Linked DNA regions of Homo sapiens: region 1 is linked to region 2. The links are contacts of gene promoters, found by promoter capture Hi-C in human tissues and cell types (Jung and others, 2019). All regions are on one chromosome and are shown on one strand. The core of a region is centred on a gene start or on the middle of the fragment in contact, and the rest is flanking DNA. Distances in the headings are between cores, read along the strand shown.

What was found. Contacts are between HindIII fragments. The study calls those that stand out against the background at their distance.
Region 1: a contact is called between a fragment that was not itself captured here and the fragment with the promoter of DACH1 in region 2, in 2 of the 25 tissues and cell types used here (lymphoblastoid cells and spleen).

Annotation. Positions count from the first base shown.
Region 1 is chr13:71,779,746-71,784,114 of GRCh38, reverse strand. The region is part of intron 1 of DACH1 (dachshund family transcription factor 1); the gene reads left to right. Among named protein-coding and RNA genes, the nearest start is that of DACH1, 85 kb to the left of the region's middle. The HindIII fragment of the contact is 5,838 bases long and covers 1-4,369 here.
Region 2 is chr13:71,865,235-71,869,524 of GRCh38, reverse strand. It overlaps DACH1 (dachshund family transcription factor 1), which reads left to right and starts at 2,321. Exons shown (of 11, transcript NM_080759.6): 1 at 2,321-3,603. The coding sequence starts at 2,756. The HindIII fragment of the contact is 6,446 bases long and covers 697-4,290 here.

The DNA of each region.
Region 1 (4,369 bases), core at 1,409-3,908, 86 kb after region 2:
TATACATCACCTTTAAAACAAAACTTCAAATTCACTGTACTCTCTCTATTTCATAAAGGCAGCAACCTCTCAGTTGTCCTCAATAAGTTTTTACTTTTATGCTAACACTTTTGTTATCTTTAGTTTTTTTTTTGTTTTTTTTTTTTTTTTAAACCTTGGAGAATATGTATTTCATCTCCCAGGATGAGAGCCAACCTATGTTAGTGAGTAAATAGAGTTAATACTATCCTGTTTTTTATTTTTATACCTCTTAAAAAAGGAAACAAAAAAAAAACCTTAAATCAAACCTAAATTATTTTGTGTCTTTTATGTTTTTTTCCATTCATTCTTTAAATGCCAGCTCCAGTGACACTTTCTCTGTGAAACTCTCCCTGCCCAGTCACTCTGAGCAAGAGTTAAGTATACCATAGAAAGATATTTAAATTTCAATCACTCCTCTTAAGACTCCTTCTTATAATCTATTGTAACCATTCCTTCTTCTCTGCCTTTCCTACTAAAGGCAATGCTCTTGGGGGCAGGTATCGTTGGTTATCGTTTCTGTATTCTGGTTCCCTGGTACAATATCTGAGCCATAAGAGTACAGGAGATATTTCTTAAATTAACTCAATCATCCTATAATTACTGTTATCACATTATTTTTATCTTACATTTTTGGAACCTCTGCCTGTCCTTTGATAGGAAAACATAAGCGGGGATCTTGATCTTGTTTGTATATGTTAGTGACTAAATTTCATCTCTTTCTTTTCTGTAGGAATATTAAGTACCTTTTCCTAGACTTTAGTTATAAGTTTATGTTCAGAATGAGAATGGAACTTGATAGTGATTAGCCAGTTTTCACCGTATTTTGTTCATCTTGAGTTGCCTTTTATTGTTTTATGAAGGCATCACTATGGATCTAATACAGCTATCTTTAGGTTTTGATGTTAGACCTCCAAATCCCTTACATGTCATAATCTTTCTGGTGATAGTGTTGTAACTCCTTTCTCTGTGCAGGAACGTGTGTACGTCTGTGTGTATAGCCACTGACTGGTCTTTTGAAGCAATGCCTTTATCTTTGTTGTTATCTTTCACTGTCAATGCCAGTTTCTTATTATTGATCCTTCCCTCTTTCACTGTCAATGCCAGTCTCTTATTATTGATCCTTCCTGTGATAATGGCTTGAGGGACTTTGAGGAATAATTTTTAAAAAATATTTTTGGTGGAAGAAATCTTCTTACTTTGAAGAAATTAGATAAAATAATTTCAACTTTGGCTGACAAATCCTGCCCTCTCGTTGGTTTATTAGCCTGCAATAATACCTATTACTACACTGTCTAGATTCAAATGTGCACAAATAACTGTCATGAATAAGTATTTTATTTTTGATTTCTCAGGATTGTTAGGTATGAAAATGAAGGTAAAAACTCTGGTTTAGTGCCTGCCAGAGTACGCACTATGGGAAAAAGCAGATGAATGGATGCTGATGACTAAGATAGTTCCTGATGCTGTGATTTTTATGGGAGATTTGTAAAGAAACTATTCACTTTAACACAAGATAATATTTGATACAAACTTTACCAGTAATACAGATTATTAGGCACTGGGACTACTGGAAGGATAAGAACACAAACATTTCTTTTTCAGTTTATTTATTTATTTTATTTTTATTTCTATTTTGTTTATTTATTTATTTATTTGAGACAGTCTCCTGCTGTCCACAGGCTGGAGTGCAGTGGCATGGTCTGCACTGACTTCAACCTCTGCCTCCCAGGTTCAAGCAGTTCTTCTGCCTCAGCCTCCTTAGTGGCTAGGACTACAGGCATGCATCACCATGCCCAGCTAATTTTTTGTATTTTTAATAGAAACGGGGTTTCACCATTTTGGCCAGGCTGGCCTTGAACTCCTGACCTCAAGCGATCCACCTGCCTTGGCCTCCTAAAGTGCTGGGATTACAAGTGTCAGCCACCAGGCCCAGCCACAAACATTTATTTTCTAATGAAATGATGTTTAATGGGTTTTGCAGAATAGGAGGATGAGACATGAGTGAAATGTGTCCATTTTGCCTGAAACTTAAGGGTCTGTAGGATGATGAGATAGTTACAGCTTTGGAGATATATTTTACTGGGCAACCAATGTCTAGTTGAGAAATTGGTACTTATTGCAGTAATCAGTGTAGCATCATTCAAGCTTTCTGAAGATGGGATGATCTGATCCAATTCAACATTTTAAAAACATATGTAAAGGTTCACAAACCTTTTGTGTAGTGTGTGTCAGAAAACAGAAATAAGGAAATGTTATACTGAACTGAGGTTGCCAACTCATATCTCATAGAAACATCATTTTGTTCAGTCCAGAGTGATCTTTGAACCACATGAATTATGCATCAAATTTACCATGAAAATTCCAAAGAAAAATCATAATTGTTAGGTCGTCTAAGAATCCTAAAGATCTGGACCTTGGCCAGGCATGGTGGCTCACGCCTGTAATCCCAGCACTTTGGGAGGCCGAGGCGGGCGGATCACGAGGTCAGGAGATCGAGACCATCCTGGCTAACACGGTGAAACCCCGTCTCTACTAAAAATAGAAAAAATTAGCCGGGCGCTTTGGCGGGTGCCTGTAGTCTCAGCTACTTGGGAGGCTGAGGCAGGAGAATGGCATGAACCCAGGAGGCAGAGCTTGCAGTGAGCCGAGATGGTGCCACTGCACTCCAGCCTGGGTGACAGAGCTAGACTCCGTCTCAAAAAATAAATAAATAAATAAATAAATAAATAAATAAATAAATAAATAAAAATAAAAAAGATCTGGACCTAGTGTTGGCATGGCAACAGTTCTCTAGAGGTGAGTTACAGTTGCTTCCTTTCTGTGGACCTGTGTGCAGGTTCACTGTGGTTCCCACAGGATTTGTTTGTTCCCTGCCTGGTTCTTGAGGCATTTGAGCTTGTGGCCTTTATTATAACCTAATGAACCAAAGGGAAGGCACAGTGAAAGTTTCAAACTTACCATAACAAAATCTCGCTCTGTCACCCAGGCTGGAGTGCAGTGTCACTATCATAGCTCACTGCAGCCTCAACCTCCTGGGCTCAAGTGATCCTCCCACCTTAGCCTCCCAAGTAACTGGACTACAGGCACGTGCCACCACACCCAGCTAATTTATTTTTATTTTTTGTAGAGATAAGGTCTCGCTATGTTGCCCATGCTGGTCTTGAATTCCTACGTTCAGGTAGTTCTCTTGCCTTGGCCTCCCAAAATGCTGGGATTGCAGACATGAGCCACTGAGACCGGCCTATTCTTAGCAATAATTTGAAAATGTATTTCACTATTCAGGGAGTGTAACAAGAAAGTTAAACAAAACATTAAAAAGGCAGGAAAGAAAGTGATTTCACTTTTATAGCACATTTTTTATTTTACCAAAGGAAGAGTAAAAGTTAAGTGAAGGAAGAGAGGGGAGAGAGGAACATTCTTTTCATTAAGAGAATTTTTTTTTTTTTTTGAGATGAAGTCTCTCTCTGTCGCCCAGACTACAATGCAGTGGCGTAGTCTTGGCTCACTGCAACCTCCGTCTCCCAGGTTCAAGAGTAGATTTTCAACACTGATAATTCTATCAACTTGTAGCTAATTTTCAAAAATATGTGGTAGCCTCTGTTTCATACCGTGTTATTTGTAATGCCCTGCATATTTTATTTGATATGTTTTATAAGGGATAAACAAAATAATATATTTAATCTAAATATACATAAAGTGCTCCAGAATCCTCTGAAATTTAAATGATAGTGTCAATGTAAAAATAATGTTATTATTTGATTGATCACATAAAAATGTTAATATCATATAAATTTATATAGCACAATGAAAAAACTCTAAAATGCCTCACTGAACCTTCCTCAGTTCCCTCAACTTGCCAAGCTCTTTCTAACTTTTCAGTCTTTGTGTATGCTTTTTTATCTGGAAGCCTCTCCCGTTCTTTCCCTTGCTGATGTAATTCCTATTCTGGTCACAGTTCTTTTTAAATCTCTATTGATCTTTACCTGACCCTTATCCCCCAGTAATGTTTTATGGTTTACACAGCCTTTTTATATATAATATCCCATTTGATCCTTATTATTTTCATTCATTCATTCATTCATTCATTCCTTCCTTCATAGGATGTTTTTGAAGCACCCACAATATGCCAGGCACTAATATAGAGAAGAGGTTTCCAGAGATTTAATAAAGAGTTTTTGTTCTCAGCTCACAATATAGTAGGAAAGAGAAATAAGTCTGCATAATTCTCTGTGGTGAGTCCAAAACTTGAGATTTGCACAAGTAGAAACATAAAATAGGTGGATGCGGTTGAGTAGAGGTGGCCAGGGATGGGAAGGAAAAAGACAGGGAAACTTTTTTGTTGAATTTT
Region 2 (4,290 bases), core at 1,072-3,571:
AGAAGGAAGGCTGGAGAGCTCTTATTCAGGTGGGGGCAAATGTCTCTCAGCCCTGCTTCTGAGTGGAGCACGTGCTCGGAGGCAAAGGTTTCCCTGCAGTAGAAAATTTGGAGTTTGCTTCGAAGCAAGGTGGGATTATGGCTTGGGCTGCTATCATTACCTCCTGTCTGTAGCTTCCGAATGTGTCAGGTATTGGGTGAGTGATAGTTTAAGGAAATGTAAAAAATGAGAATGGTAATGGCAGATGCTCGGCATTTAATTCCCATTCTTCCATTTGTGGGTCTAGAACTTAAAATAATGAGACTATAGTTTAGTCTTTTAAAACCATATCAAAATTTATTAAAGTTAGGCATAGAATTCGAAAATAAAATTAGCTTTTCAGGGCTTAATACTTTCTTCCTCCCCTCCCCTCATTATAATAGTAGTTTGGTATGTCTTAAAAAAGTAATATTTTCTAAAACATGCAAAAATACTTAAGGAAGTGTTTTGATGTATGTGATATATATTGAATTCCTACTTTTACCCATAACAAATTTGAAGACTGAAACATAAATAAAAATTATTTCTGAATGTATTACAATACATTGGTTAACCAGGCCAAACAACTGTTTAAACTTTAGTTGTCCTTGCAGAAGTTCATGGACTTTTCTGCAACAATCGATTTTCTGAATTCTTATCTCCCAGGAAAGCCTCCTGATTTAACTGCTATGTCCCAAAAATTTTAGTATAATCATACACTAATTAGTCCATAGTGTCATATTTCTATTTTTCGGTAGACAGTTCCTGCACTATTTGACACTGCGATTCACAGAGTTCAAAGGCTTAAAATGATATAGAGAAATGTGATCATTTCAACACCAGAATGGCAAAAATTTTATTATAAAATTTCCCAACCCTGTGAACCTGCTACTAACAGTTTATTTTAAAAATCTGTCAAATGCTAAAGCATTGCTTCATATCTTATGAACTTACTGAACATGTGTGGACCGGTTCAAAGGCTAACTAATTGAAGATACTTGGAGACATGAGCAGCAAATAGATTTGACCCATATTCAAATGATATGTTAGTCAAAAATCCTTGAATAAATACTTCAGTGCAACAAGTTAGAAAAGAAAAGAAAAGGAAAGAGGAAGGAAAGGAGGAATAGAGTCAGTCTAAACTCAGCCTCATGTTGTTTTAAGCACAGCTACCCAAGTCTTTACAAGTCAACTAGTGAGCTTTGTTTTTGTTCTTCCCATTATTTACAAAACATATATTTACTGACAAATTGAAAAGGACTTTCCAAAACTACAGCAGCACTTTTCAAACATGAAAAAAAAAAAAAAAAAACTATTGTGTTGTCCAAAAAACACATTAGCAATTGGCTTTGGGTCTTAAAGGACATGAGGATAGTTGGTTACTGTGTAAGACAGGTGAATTAATTATAGAGTTTTGGGTAAGAAAACCCTTTTTCCACTTTCTAAATCTTCAAGGATACCTTATCTCCTTGATAGCTCTAGGTTTAACAGGTATTTCTGACTGGCTTTTGGGGAGACAGTGAAGTTATTCTAAATCATCCACATCAAGGCAAGCATTTCTTTCCACAACCTATTAGGAAATATGGAATTGAATACAGAGCTTTCCATTATTCTTAAGCGATTTCGGACTGACTTTCTTCTCACCACTTGAAAACTGTCCTGGAATTTTCACTATCTTTATATAAATAAATAATTTAGTAGAGAAATAAACAATCAGATGCAAAAGAACATTACGCTTTGCTTACATGTGAATTTTCCTCAAAATAATTTCTGAATAATCGTGAAGTGGGGGCTGTGTTTTCGTTTCTAGCTCATTGCCAAAACGCGTGGAGATGGATCCTAAATCCTGGAAGGAGAGAGCTCGGCGCGCTCAGGCTCCTCTTTAAGTTGGCGGGCGATTGTTTAGAAGCTTTGGAAAAAATTACCAGTCCCCGCGGACGAAATGGAATGTGAGACATGCAATCTAACGGTAGTAGTAGAAGAGAAGTAGATGATCTCCCTCTCCTTTTCCGATCGCCACTTCTGTGTCCCCGGCTTTTCCTCTCCGTCCCTCCCACAGTTTCTTTCCGTATCCTCCCCCTCCCCTCCTCCTTTCCTCGCACGCTCCCTCTCCAGTGTCTCGCGCTCTCGGAGTCTCTGCTCCGAGTTCCTGGTTGGATAATTTGGGTTAATACTAGTGAGTGAGGTTTTTGCGGCTTCAAAGGGTATTTCAAGTTTCCGGAGCTCCTCCCCTCTGCACCGTGTGACAACAACAACTCGTCCAGCCGGCAGCCTGCACTTTTCAGCTCATTTTCTCTCTGTCATTCCCCTCTCAATCTTTGATCAATGTACTTGCCAGGGAGAGCCCAAGTCCTTCAAACCTCCTCCTTTTCACCTTCATCCTTAACTTTGTGCTAGAGCGAGACCCACACAACAACAGCCGACCCTCCCCGCCCCACCCCCACCCCCAAACCAGCCCTCGATCCCAGCCCCCGGAGAGGACTCGCATTTCGACTTGCGGGACACTTTTGTGCGTTCCTCTCCAGAGCGCCTCTCGTGCTCGCCCCTCTTGCGCTCGCTCTTTATTACCTTCACCTCCTTTTCTCCCCCTTCTCTCCCTTTCTCCTTCTCGTTCTCTCCCGGAGTTGTTGTTGCCCCCCTCGCTCCTTCTCCCCCCTTTTTTCCCCTTCCCCTCCCGGGGGTGTGTGGCAACTTTTCCTCTCGCTTCTCCTCCGTCTGTTTCCCCTTATATGTGACCATGGCAGTGCCGGCGGCTTTGATCCCTCCGACCCAGCTGGTCCCCCCTCAACCCCCAATCTCCACGTCTGCTTCCTCCTCTGGCACCACCACCTCCACCTCTTCGGCGACTTCGTCTCCGGCTCCTTCCATCGGACCCCCGGCGTCCTCTGGGCCAACTCTGTTCCGCCCGGAGCCCATCGCTTCGGCGGCGGCGGCGGCGGCCACAGTCACCTCTACCGGCGGCGGCGGCGGCGGCGGCGGCAGCGGAGGCGGCGGCGGCAGCAGCGGCAACGGAGGCGGCGGTGGCGGCGGCGGCGGTGGCAGCAACTGCAACCCCAACCTGGCGGCCGCGAGCAACGGCAGCGGCGGCGGCGGCGGCGGCATCAGCGCTGGCGGCGGCGTCGCTTCCAGCACCCCCATCAACGCCAGCACCGGCAGCAGCAGCAGCAGCAGTAGCAGCAGCAGCAGCAGCAGCAGTAGTAGCAGCAGCAGCAGTAGCAGCAGCAGCTGCGGCCCCCTCCCCGGGAAACCCGTGTACTCAACCCCGTCCCCAGTGGAAAACACCCCTCAGAATAATGAGTGCAAAATGGTGGATCTGAGGGGGGCCAAAGTGGCTTCCTTCACGGTGGAGGGCTGCGAGCTGATCTGCCTGCCCCAGGCTTTCGACCTGTTCCTGAAGCACTTGGTGGGGGGCTTGCATACGGTCTACACCAAGCTGAAGCGGCTGGAGATCACGCCGGTGGTGTGCAATGTGGAACAAGTTCGCATCCTGAGGGGACTGGGCGCCATCCAGCCAGGAGTGAACCGCTGCAAACTCATCTCCAGGAAGGACTTCGAGACCCTCTACAATGACTGCACCAACGCAAGGTGAGTCGGGGGGGATAGCCCCCGCCGCCCGCGCCCCTTCCCACCAGCCTGCTCGCCTGCCCTCGCTCCTTTCCCGGCGCCGCTCGCTCTGCGCGCCCGCGAGCCGCGCGCCCCGGCGAGCGCGGCCCTCTCCTCTCCCTGCTCGGGGCTCGCCAGCCGCGCCCGACCCCCTGAGAAGTTGGCACCTCACCCTGCCCAGACCTCGCTCTTCGGCCCGGTCCTCCCCTTGCCCTCTGGGTCCCGGGGATGGGCTGCTGTGGGATGTGGGAAAGCCGAGCCTCGGGGCGGAGGGGACGAGAGGGAGGAGGACGGCGCCTTTGCTGGAGCCACAGCCCCCTGCCCCGGGCGCGCGGGCGCCTGGAGACCCCTCTCAGCGCTGCTGTCCGCGTTCGTGCGCTCCCCAGGACCTGGGTTCCACGGCCAGCCTCCCGGCACCGACAGGGCTGATCTGTGGCGCCGAGCGGTGTCCCGGGGGCGGGGGGAGGTCGTGACCTGCTCCGCAGGGCTCGGGGAGCGGGGAGACGCGCTCCGGGTGAGGGCCCCGCTGGGAAAGGCGAGGGAGCGGACCAGCACCCGAGGAGGGCACTTTGAGGTCGGGAGGGAAATGACCCGCGAAGCTGAGAGACCGGGTCCATCCCGGGGGATGGGCTCCGGGGACTTGAGCTCCGAAGCCCGGAGGGGAAGCCA